Regions from separate parts of the Homo sapiens genome. Here region 1 is linked to region 2. Evidence: promoter capture Hi-C in 16 types of primary human blood cells and fetal thymus (Javierre and others, 2016). All regions are on one chromosome and are shown on one strand. Each heading gives the region's core, a stretch centred on a gene start or on the middle of the fragment in contact. The rest is flanking DNA. Distances are from core to core; before and after follow the strand shown.

Region 1 (5,809 bases), core at 1,247-3,746, 88 kb before region 2:
GGGTGTTCTAAAAGTTACTTTTTGTAGTTAAACTACACTTTATTTACATTTGTTTGTTATGGAAATAATGCATAATAATCGTTAAAAATCCAAACAAAAGGGGGGAACATATTAAAAGAAAAGTAAGGGTCTCCCTGCTACTCTACCTACCTACCCACCTACCTTATCTGTTACCATATCCTAGACCCAACTGCAATTAACAATTTCTGGTTTTAGTTCTTCTGGTTCTTTTCATTATAACCTTAAATACTGTACATATACATCTTGACTCACCAGCTGAAAATCCTTCAAAGGGACAAAAACTTATTCTTAACTCCTAATTTAAAAAATTGTATTACTTTTAGTTTTGCTAGAAGCTTTCATGACTTTAGGTTGTTTACCTAAATCATTATTTATAAATTTTACACACTGTATATTGGCTCCCTACTAGGAGAGGTGAGGAATTGGTACATTCTTACTTTCTCGTCTTTTCCCCTCCCCCTCCTAATTTTGTTAGTTTCATTCTCATTTTTAGTCTGTCAAGAATTTGCATTCTTTTTGTAAATAAAATTACAGACATCCCTTGGTATCCATGGGGGATTGGTTCCAGGACCTCTCGTATACACCAAAATCCACATACACTCAAATCCCACAGTTGGCCCTGTGGAACCTGTGGATATGACCATTCGCATCCCAAGAATACTGTATTTTCCACCTATTCTTGGTTTCAGTTGTGGAACCCACTGATATGGAGGGCCAACTGTATATATTGAAAACAATTTGCATATAAGTAGACCCACACTGGTTCAGACCCCTGTTGTTCAGGGTCAGCTCTATATCTTTCCAACTTTGTGCATTGATTGAAAAACCAACAACAGTATGATATTAGGGCTATAACAGATCTGTTAGGCCAAGCCCACATGCCCCTGAACAGAACATTCTGCACATTGGGCCAACTTCCAACTGCCGGCACCTGAAGTTATTTGCATTATCAGCTATCTTTGTCCACCAGAGCCTGCTCTGCCTGCATTTTGGGAAGACCTAAAGTGCCAAGGAATTAACACACCCTGCAAGTATGCTCAATTGAAGGCAATGAATAGAAAAAGACCCCTGACTCCTTCACCCCTGGATTTCAGGGAGGTAAATCCAAGATGTATGCTAAGGAGGTGACACTTAATGTCAGACACACACACCTGTTATGAGAGTTTCCTGATTGAATAAGAAAGAGGCATTCCAGGCAGAAGTACCCGAACATACAAGAGTGCAAGACCAAGAGGCTAAGGCAGATTGCTCTGTGCAAGAAGTGGCAGGTAGTGTGGCGTGGCTGGAGATGAAGAAATGACTGGATTGGGAAGGACTTTATCCACCAATCTAATGAATTTGACTTTCATCTTGAAGGTGTGAAATAGCGTGCTAAACAAGTTTAAAAGCAAAATGTCATTAGCCTATTTGTATTTAGAAAGAGCACTCCAGAAGCAAGGAGGGGATGGGTGAATTGGATGTACTGACACTGGAACAAGGAAATTATTCCAATAGTCCAGGAAAGAAGAAGGACATCAACTAAAATTGCACAAGTGAACATGGAAAAAAGAGGATGCGTCTGAGAAATATAAATATTGGCCGGGGCGGTGGCTCACACCTGTAATCCCAACACTTCGGGAGGGTGAGGTGGGCAGATTGCTTGAACTCAGGAGTTCAAAACCAGCCTGGGTAACATGGCAAAACCCCTCTCTACACAAAATACAAAAATTAGCCAAGCGTGATGGCATGGCCTGTAGTCCCAGTTACTCAGGAGGCTGAGGTGGGAGGATCACTTGAGCCTGGGAGGTTGAGGCTGCAGTGAGCCATGATCTCGCCACTGCACTCCCACCTGGGAGATAGAGTGGGACCCTGTCTAAAAAAAAAAACAAAGAAATATAAATATTGTATTAGGGTTTACCAAAGAAACAGAACCAATACGATATATGTATGTATACGGGTATATATATAAGGAGATTCATATAAGGAACTGACTCACAAGATCACTGAGGCTGGCAAGTCTACAGGATGAGCCAGCAAGCTGGAGACCCAGGAGAACTGATGGCATAGTTCCTGACCAGAGGCTAGCAGGCTTGAAATCCAGGAAGAGTCAGTGTTTCAATCTGAGTCTGAAGGCAAGAAACAAGCTGATGTCCCAGTCAAAAGATCAGAAGGCAGGAGAGATTCTTTCTTACTCAGGGAGGATCAGTTTTTTTGTTTTATTCAGGCTTCTAACTGATTGGATGAGACTCACTCATATGTTAGGGAGGTCAATTTGCTTTACTCAGGCTATCCATTTAAATGTTAATCTCATCCCAAAACACCCTCATACACACACCCAGGATAATGTTTCAGCAAGTATCTGGGCACTCTATGGCCCAGTCAAGTTGACACATAAAATTAATCACAAATATGTTCCAGTAACTTAGTTTTTAAACAACTAGATTCTTATGAGAATAAACTCAGGATAGGATAGGGGAAATGCTTTCTGGCTTTCCACTTGCATATTCTTGGAATGTCACTTTTTCTTAAATGTTAAAAATTGAAGGCCAGGCATGGTGGCTCATGCCTGTAATCCCAGCACTTTGGGAGGCTGAGGTGGGTGGATCACGATGTCAGGAGTTCCAGACCAGCCTGACCATCATGGTGAAACCCCATCTTTACTAAAAATACAAAAAAATAGCTGGGAGTGGTGGCGCGTGCCTATAATCCCAACTACTCAGGAGGCTGAGGCAGGAGAATCACTTGAAACCTGGGAGACGGAGGTTGCAGTGAGCCAAGATCACGCCACCGCACTGCAGCCTGGGCAACAAGAATGAGACTCCATCTCAAAAAAAAAAAAAAAAAATGAAAATGTGTCGTTAATCATCGAGATAGTCTTTCAGTCTGCACTCAGTAATATTAATGCCTTCTCATTGAAGTCATCTATTCTGTTCCCATAAAGATCAGGATAGTTTAGGTAGTGGTGAATAAATAAGGTTCTCAATGGCCTATTAGTTTTTTTAAATGTTCAAAAGATAGTAGCATGTTGGGAAAAGAGATGAATTCCACATTTCTTTTGGTACAGTACAACTTACTGAAATTGCTTTCTTATTTCAACAAGGATTTACCAGGTTGTGTGTAGTGGTTAAAAGCATGGACTTTACAGCCACATTACATGGGTTCAAATCCACTTACTAGTTATGTTAACCACAGGAAGTTAGCTAATGTCTCTCTGCCTCAGTTTTCTGTTTGTAAATTAGGATAAAAATCTCCGTAGATGTGAATATGTATAGCTAGATAGTAGATTGTATTCAAAATCCCAATCATAACATAATAAAAATATTAACTATTATTAGTTGTTTTGAATATACAACCTAATTTCATTTTCTCCATGATCTGAGCATGTTGAGTTATTTTTAAACAACTCCATTTTACAGATGAGACAGTGTTCCAATAAGCTAGGTAGTATGCCCACAGACACACAGCTAGCAGCTGAGATGAACCACCCAAGTCTATTTGGTTTTCAGCTCATGTTCTTTTCATGATATTTTGCTTTCTCTCAATATTTATAGAATTTAATTTAATTGACTAGAATTAAACTAAGAGAAAATGATTGAATGAAGAGATGCAGAAGGCAAGAGATAGCAAAGGTCATTCTGGGCTGGGCATGGTGGCTCACACCTGTAATCCCAGCACTTTGGGAGGCCTAGGCGGGTGGATCATCTGAGGTCGGGAGTTCAAGACCACCCTGGCCAACATGGTGAAACACCCCCGTCTGCTAAAAATACAAAAATTAGCTGGGTGTGGTGGCAGGCGCCTGTAATTGCAGCTACTCGGGAAGCTGAGGCAGGAGAATCGCTTGAACTGGGGAGGTGGAAGTTGCAGTGAGCCGAGATGTGCCATTGCACTCCAGCCTGGGCAGTAAGAGCGAAACTCCGTCTCAAAGCAAAAAAAAGAAAAGCTACCTTTACCAAAGACAGTTAAAATGATGGCCACCAAGGGGCAGTGTGCAGCAGGCAGAGAAGGTGGCTTTTTAAATTATTTTTCACTGCCTGCTGAGACAAAGATGTTACACCAGAATATGCCACCCTAACATATGCTTCTTTGGCATAAGGATTATTTTGAGCTGAAGACGATTGAGAAGAAACAAATAAAAGAAAAACTCTGCCTTCCCTTTCTTTGCCTAAAGGCAGGACATGCTAGTTAATGATCAACCCCTGACCTAATCGGTTATGTTACCTATAGATTACAGACATTTTATAGAAAAAGAAAAACACGGTGAAAATCCCTGTCCTGTTCTGTTCCATTGTAATTACCAGTGCATGCAGCCCCCAATCACATACCCACTGCTTGCTCAATCGATCATGACACTCTCATGTGGACCCCCTTAGAGTTGTAAGCCCTTAAGAGGGAAAGGAATTGCTCACTTGGGGAGCTCGGTTTTTGGAGACGTGAGTCTGCTGATGCTCCCAGCTGAATAAAGCCCTTCCTTCTACAACTCGGTGTCTGAGGGGTTTTGTCTGTGGCTACAAACCTGTCTTTGGCCAGTCTAATTTACAGGACCTCAGCCAGAGAACTAAGATGGGTAGAGGCAATACAGGAGATAGAAATAATTTAGGTAGGTAGATAGGGTGAAAGAGTCCCTGACAAAAGCTTTTCTTCTGACAAAAAACAGCTCAGAAATTACTTCCATTCTAACCACAGGCAGTCCAAATAAATCACTTCTCTTTTAACAAAGAGCAGCCTGGAAGATTGGACTGTATAATGTAGATAAGCATCTCCGGCACAGAGGGAGAGTTTCTTGGGTAGTCACCAAACTTACATAAATGGGTCCCAGTAAAAACAGTAGGCTTTAATGAGCACATTCCTTTCCCCTTTTTTGGACAGGGACACACTAAGGTTAGCTAGAAGCTTGCATGGTGGGGTGGGGGAAATGCCTGCAGCTGCAAGGAGGTACCCAGGACAAGGCATGGAAACTCCCCCTATTCTTGTTAGCACATGCAAGGTGGAAGGAGAAAGGCAGTGTGGAGTCGCCCAAGCTAAGAGCCTGCCTGCATGATAAAAGAATGGGGTAGGGGCTGCCAGAGATTCCACTCTATACAGATGACACACCTGGTCCTAACCAGGTTTTCATGCCCTATGTAGATAAGATACCCGCTCCCTACTAGCTCGTTGATAAAAACCCTCCATTTTACTGCAGCACGGCAACCCGTCTGGGACCTCTCTCTGTGAGAGAGAGCTGTCCTTTTCCTTTTGCCTATTACACTTCTCTAACTTCACCCTTTGTGTGTCTGCATTCTTCATTTCTGTGGCCATGAGACAAAAAACCTCAGCTGATATCCCAGACAACAAGGCTGCTTTAGAGGGAAAACGGATAGCTAATATTATCAGTTAATTGGCTATGTTAATTGATACCTTCAAATTAGGTGTTTTAAAATAAATGCTGAGAACAATATGAAAGTGTTTTTCTTTTACTAATTCTCTGAGGATTTTGTTATTTATTTAGCTTTACAATGCCTAGCCCCCTTTATAAATGTAATTATTGTGTTGCTAAGTGCATGTATACAAAAAATTCATTGGTTCAAAAGCCATAGGCCTGGTACCATAGCCATATATGGTACGTTCAAACCTTGGAAATGCACATTCTCAGTGTGTCGGAAGCTCTGTACTGCTCCTTCTTGAAGAACTACTTTGATTTGTGGTTAACTCGCTGTTTTGACTCACTGTTTTAACTCCCATTACTTCAGTATCTGACATTCAGCCTCAGAATCTGGCCAGTGTATCAGGGCTGGAATTAATTGATTAACACCATTAGATGGCAGTACTATTT
Region 2 (5,303 bases), core at 609-3,108:
TACCACCCAGCCCCCCTATCCCTCTTCAGGGAGACCTGGTACCACCCAGCTTCCTCATTCCTCTTCTCTCTGCTTCTCCATTCTATTTCATTTCTTGACCAGAGAATCTCCCCCTCCCACTGTCTCTGTGGTTTCCAGAATGGAAAAAACGTAAATATCGCTATACAACGCCCGACCCCTGCCGCCCCAAAGAATCTCAGGAGGTCAAGACCCCTGGATCTCCTTGCACCTCTGCTGTGGATTCCATGCAAGGCTTCACAAACATGCTTTTATGTGCGTGTCCAGCAGCAGAAGCCATGTGAGTGTGCAGGAGACAGGGAGCCCTTTCGAGCCTCCATGGAAAGCCAGCTCGCTTGGGCTGTGCTGGAGGCAGTGCCCCTCTCTGCTGGCTGCAGTAAAGGCTGTGAGCAAAAGGAGGGAGGCTGAAGGCCAGTAAAATAGAATCATATTTACAGTGATACAAAGCCACGTGCCACACTTTCTACTCGGTGGTGGGAATGACAGCATAAGGGTTTAATGCCTACATACAGTTAGGATCAGGCTGGAATTTGGGTGTTTGGCTCCCCATGTTTTAACTCACATTCCTTTAATTGGGTCATAGTCCTGCCCTCGCTGTCATTTTTGCCAGCTGCATGGTTCCCTCTGAGCTGCAGAATCAGGTAGACCAGAAGACCCAGGTGATGCTGGTGTTTACCTTCTTAGCTGGGAATTAGTTGGCAGCGGCCGCATGGCTCTGACATTCATTTCAAATATAACCTGCAAGGAGCAAGGAAGAAACCGCAAGCAACACAACTTTTTCGCCCTCAAATTACATCCCAGCTGAGACCGCTGCCTGGGATTTTCTCAGCATCCTTCCTGCCCCTCAGTAGGACATGCTGAGCTGTTCTGAGCCATTTCACCTGTGTTGGGAGCTGTGGCGGGAAATCAGACGGAGCGGCGTCTTGTAGCTCATTTGCCTCACGGTGGCTCCTGCTGCCTTTCTCCTCTTCCCATGTGGCCAGTGGCCAGCCAGCCCCTGCTGTCAGCACTTCTGAGCTAAGATCTCTCTGACTCCACAGGAACTGGCAGTGGGAATCCAAAAGTCACCATGGTGACGACTCACTTAGGAGTGTGCTGTGTTTCCTGATCGCGCAGCAGCCGTGGGGGCAGGCGGGGCAGCTGCGCTTCCACCCACTCTGAAGTTCACCCAAAGCTGCCCACTGGCCGGTGTTCCTCCAGCGTGGGCCTCAGCCCGCAGCATTGGCGTCCCCTGGGAGCTGTTTAGAAATGCAAATGTCGGGTCCTGCGCAGTCTTGCTGCTCAGAGTCTGCATGTTCCCAGGGCCCAGGAGGCTGCTGCATGCCGTGAAGTGTGAGGAGCCGGGTTGGGGTGGCCCACCCTGTGCACAGAGCCGGGAGGTGCCGTGGCCTGCACTGCCCCACCCCGACCTTCTGGCAGAAAGTCCAGGCTTTCCCTGCTCTACGCCGACTCCCACCATAGTCTTATTGAGATCTCATATGAGGAACCAACTCCATTCACAGCTGAGGGGCTGAATCAAAGCACTGGGGGCAGCAGTGCGGGGTGGGTGAGACCCTGTCTGGAAAATGGGACAGCGTTAGGGAGGAGTGTGTCCATGCAAGGAAGGCTTAGAAATGCTCCCACACATGTTGGGGTCTCAAAGTTTCAGCAGTGGTCACTGCCTGAGAAGCTCCGGCCAGGTCAGAGGTGCCAGGGCACAGGTCAGGAAGCAGCTGAACCCCTGCCTGCTAGCCAAGCTCCGGTTCTCACCCACTGTGCCTGGGTCACACCGTCCTATCCGGATTCCACTGGTATTCACATTCCTGGGATGTGGCGGAGTTCCAGCTGGGATCCGGCTGCCCATCGCTGTGGCGGGAAGAGAGCTGCTGAACAGCATGCGAGACCCCTTTGCAGAGGGGCACTGCTGCGCTGCCAAGGCAAAGCCTGAACAGGAGGAGGAGACGAGGGTCACAGTGATAATACCCCTTGGAGGGCAAGCTGGGGTGGGCCGAGGAAGGGGCCGGGGCAGAGCTTGAGGAATCTGCTGAAGGAACAGCCTGTTCAGGCTGACTCAGGTCGGCCCACAACTCCCTTCACCACCCCAGGTCCTTTGAGGTACAGAGGAGGCAAAGGAGAGAGCAGCTTTGCAGCCTGCAAAAGGTCTCCTGGCCCAGGCTTGTCTAATTTGCAGCTCTAGGCTCCCGTTCACAGCCCCGCATGTCTCCATGCTGGTTAGGATGATGCTAGCCCTGTGATAAACACATCCCATCATTTCACTAGCTTCACGCTCTGGAAGTTTTATTTCTTACTCATGTCCCTGTCCAGTGCTGTTGCTCCTGGTACTAGGCAGCACTCCGCATAATGAATCAGGAGCCGAGGCTCGTCAGTGCTCCACGGGGTGACTCAGGGTGCAAGGCTTCTTGTGTCCAGTGGCTCCGTCATCTCTCTTTCACCTTATTGCTGGGCTGCATCTTTTTTTGTGCCATGAACCCCTTCCAGTGGCCTGATGGTCTCAGAATAAGATTTTTTAACACATTAAAGAAAACACAAGACAGCAAGGAATAGGATATGAAAATGTTTTGTACTGCCAGCAAAACACCAGTCCTGCTGAAGCTACTGTGCTTTTTTGCCTACACTCATAATTGATGGAAATACTAAATATGAGGTACAAATAATGCAGTTGTTTTCCCATTGGAGGTCACAGGCCCCTGAATCTAACCCTGGGTTTACAGCTGTAGCCAAGAGTCAGGGAGAAGAGTGTGGAGAAGGCACAGCCGCTTCCTTGTGTCTGTGCTGGGAAGGACACCGGTCCCTCCACGCCCCACTGGCCAGCACCAGTGACAGAGCCACATCTAGTGGGTGGGCCGTGAGAAAAGAAACACTTCAGCTGAATTAAATTTAAAAGCATGTAATTGAGCAATAAACAATTTGCGAATCAGGCAGCCTTCTAAGCCAGAGTAGACTCAGAGACTCAGGCGCAGCCGCATGATGGAAGAACGCACCCTGTGTGTTCACCCGGCGTTCTTCCCTCTATGCGATTGCACAGCGTTTTCCCCAGTGTGTATTTACCCGGCGTTCTCCACCCTGTGTGATCGCCCAGCGTTCTCCCCTGTGTGTGTTCCCCTGGCGTTCTCCCCTCTGTGCATCCACCAGGCGGTCGCCCTTCTGTGTGTTCCCGCGGCGTTCTCCCCATGTGTTCACGTGGCGTTCTCTCCCCTGTGTGTTCCCACGGCGGTCTCTTTACTCTGTGCGTTCCTCGGCATTCTTTCTCCTGTGTGCGTTCACCAGGGGTTCTCCTTTCTTTGTGCGTTCACATGGCATTCTCCACCCTGTGCGTTCGCTCGGCGTTCTCCCCTCTGTGCCTTCACCAGGTGTTCTCCCTTCTGTGTGTTCGCACTGCATTCTCCCTTCTGTGTGTTCACGTGGCGTTCTCTCCCCTGTGCGTTCAAACTGCGTTCTCTTTACTGTGTGCGTTTCCCCGGCGTTCTCCCCGCGTGTGCGAGTTCACGTGGCGTTCTTTCTTTGTGCGTTCACATGGCGTTTCCCCACTGTGCGTCCCTGTGACGTTCTTCCCCCTGTGTGTTCGCGCGGCGTTATTTCCCCTGTGTGCGTTCACGCGGCGTTCTCCCCGCTGTGTGTTCACACGGCGTTATTTCCCGTGTGTGCATTCACGCGGCGTTCTCCCCCCTGTGCTTTCACGCGGCGTTCTCCCTGCTGTGTGTTCACGCGTCGTTATTTCCCGCGTGTGTTAGGGCGGCGTTCTCCCCGCTGTCCGTTCAACTTACGTTCTTCTTGCTGAGCGTTCGCGTGCCGTTCTCCCCACTGCGTGCTCGCGCGGTTGTGTTTCCCGTGTGTGTTGGCGCAGCATTCTCCCCTCGTGCGTTCACTTGGCGTTCTGCTGCTTGTGCGTTCACCTGGCTTTCTCCTTTGTGCGTTCACCAGGCGTTTTCCCCCTTGTGCGTTCACCTGGCATTTTCCTCCCTCTGTGTTCTCCCGGCGTTCTCTCCCCTGCGCGTTCCCACGGCCTTCTCTTTACTGTGTGCTTTCCTCTGGCGTTCCTACCCCCTGTATGAGTTCACCTGGCGTTCTCCTTCCTTTGTGCGTTCACATGGCGTTTTCCCCGCTGTGCGTTCACCAGCGTTCTCCCCTCCCGCTGTACGTTCACCAGGCATTCTCCCCCTTGTGGGTCCGCGCGGTGTTCTCTCCCCGTGTGTGCTCACCAGGCGTTCTCCTCCCTTTGTGTTCACACGGAGCTCTCCCCTCTGTGTGTTCACCCGGGGTTCTCCCCTCTATGCGTTCACGCGGTGTTTTCCCCAGTGTGTGTTTACCCGGTGTTCTCCCCGCTGTGTGATCGCGCAGCGTTCTCCCCCGTGCGTGTTCCCCTGGCGTTCTCCCCTCTGTGCGTTCGCCGGGCATTCGCCCTTCTGTGTGTTCCCGCGGCGTTCTCCCTCGTGTGTTCACGTGGCGTTCTCTCTCCTGTGCGTTCCCACGGCGTTCTCGGTGTTCTCTTTACTGTGTGCGTTCCCCTGGCGTTCTCGGCCCTGTGTGCGTTCACTCAGCGTTCTCCTTTCTTTGTGCGTTCACATGGCTTTCTCCTACCTGTGCGGTTGTGCGGCGTTCTCCCTGTGCGTTCACCTGGCTTTCTCCTTTCTTTGCGCGTTCACCAGGCGTTTTCTCTTGTGCGTTCACCTGGCGTTCTCCTCCCTGTGTGATCTCCCGACGTTCTTCCTCCAGCCCCCACCGTGTGTTCAGGTTGCGTTCTCTCTCCTGTGCGTTCCCAAGGCATTCTCTTTACTCTTTGCGTTCCCCAGGCGTTCTCCCCGCTGTGTGCTTTCACGCTGCGTTCTCCCCTTTATGAGTTCGCGGGTTGTTCTCCCCACTGTGCGTTCAACGCGGCATTCTCCCCTCACTTTGCTTTCAAGTGGCGTTCTCCCTGCTGTGCGTTCGCGCAGTGTTCTTCCCCGTGTGCGTTCACGTCGCGTTCTCCACGCTGTGCGTTCGTGCGACGTTCTCCCACCTGTGTGTTTGCTCGGCGTTATTTCCCGTGTGCTTTAGCGCGGCATTTTCCCCCTGTGCGTTCACCTGGCCTTCTCCCTCCCGTGCATTCACCAGGCGTTCTCCCCGCTGAGCGTTCGCGCGCCGTTTCCCTCCTGTGCCTTCACCCGGAATTCTCTACCCTGTGCGTTCGCGTGGGCGTTCTCCCCCGTGTGTGTTCACCCGGCATTCTCCCTTCTGTGTGTTCGTGCGGCGTCTCCCCCGTGTGTTCACGTGGCGTTCTCTTCCCCGTGCGTTCACCGGCGTTCACC

What was found. Contacts are between HindIII fragments. The CHiCAGO score rates a contact against its expected background, and 5 or more counts as called.
Region 1: a fragment that was not itself captured here is called in contact with the fragment with the promoter of RPS6KA2-AS1 in region 2 in 1 of 17 cell types (naive CD4 T cells); the score reaches 5.2 in naive CD4 T cells.

What each region holds. Positions count from the first base shown.
Region 1 is chr6:166,988,003-166,993,811 of GRCh38, reverse strand. No RefSeq gene overlaps it. Among named protein-coding and RNA genes, the nearest start is that of MIR3939, 7.0 kb to the left of the region's middle. The HindIII fragment of the contact is 4,276 bases long and covers 359-4,634 here.
Region 2 is chr6:166,900,253-166,905,555 of GRCh38, reverse strand. It overlaps RPS6KA2-AS1 (RPS6KA2 antisense RNA 1), which reads right to left and starts at 1,858. Exons shown (of 2, transcript NR_046644.1): 1 at 1,768-1,858; 2 at 487-1,256. RefSeq lists enhancers at 741-1,421, 1,422-2,103, 3,274-3,773. The HindIII fragment of the contact is 22,454 bases long and covers 1-5,303 here.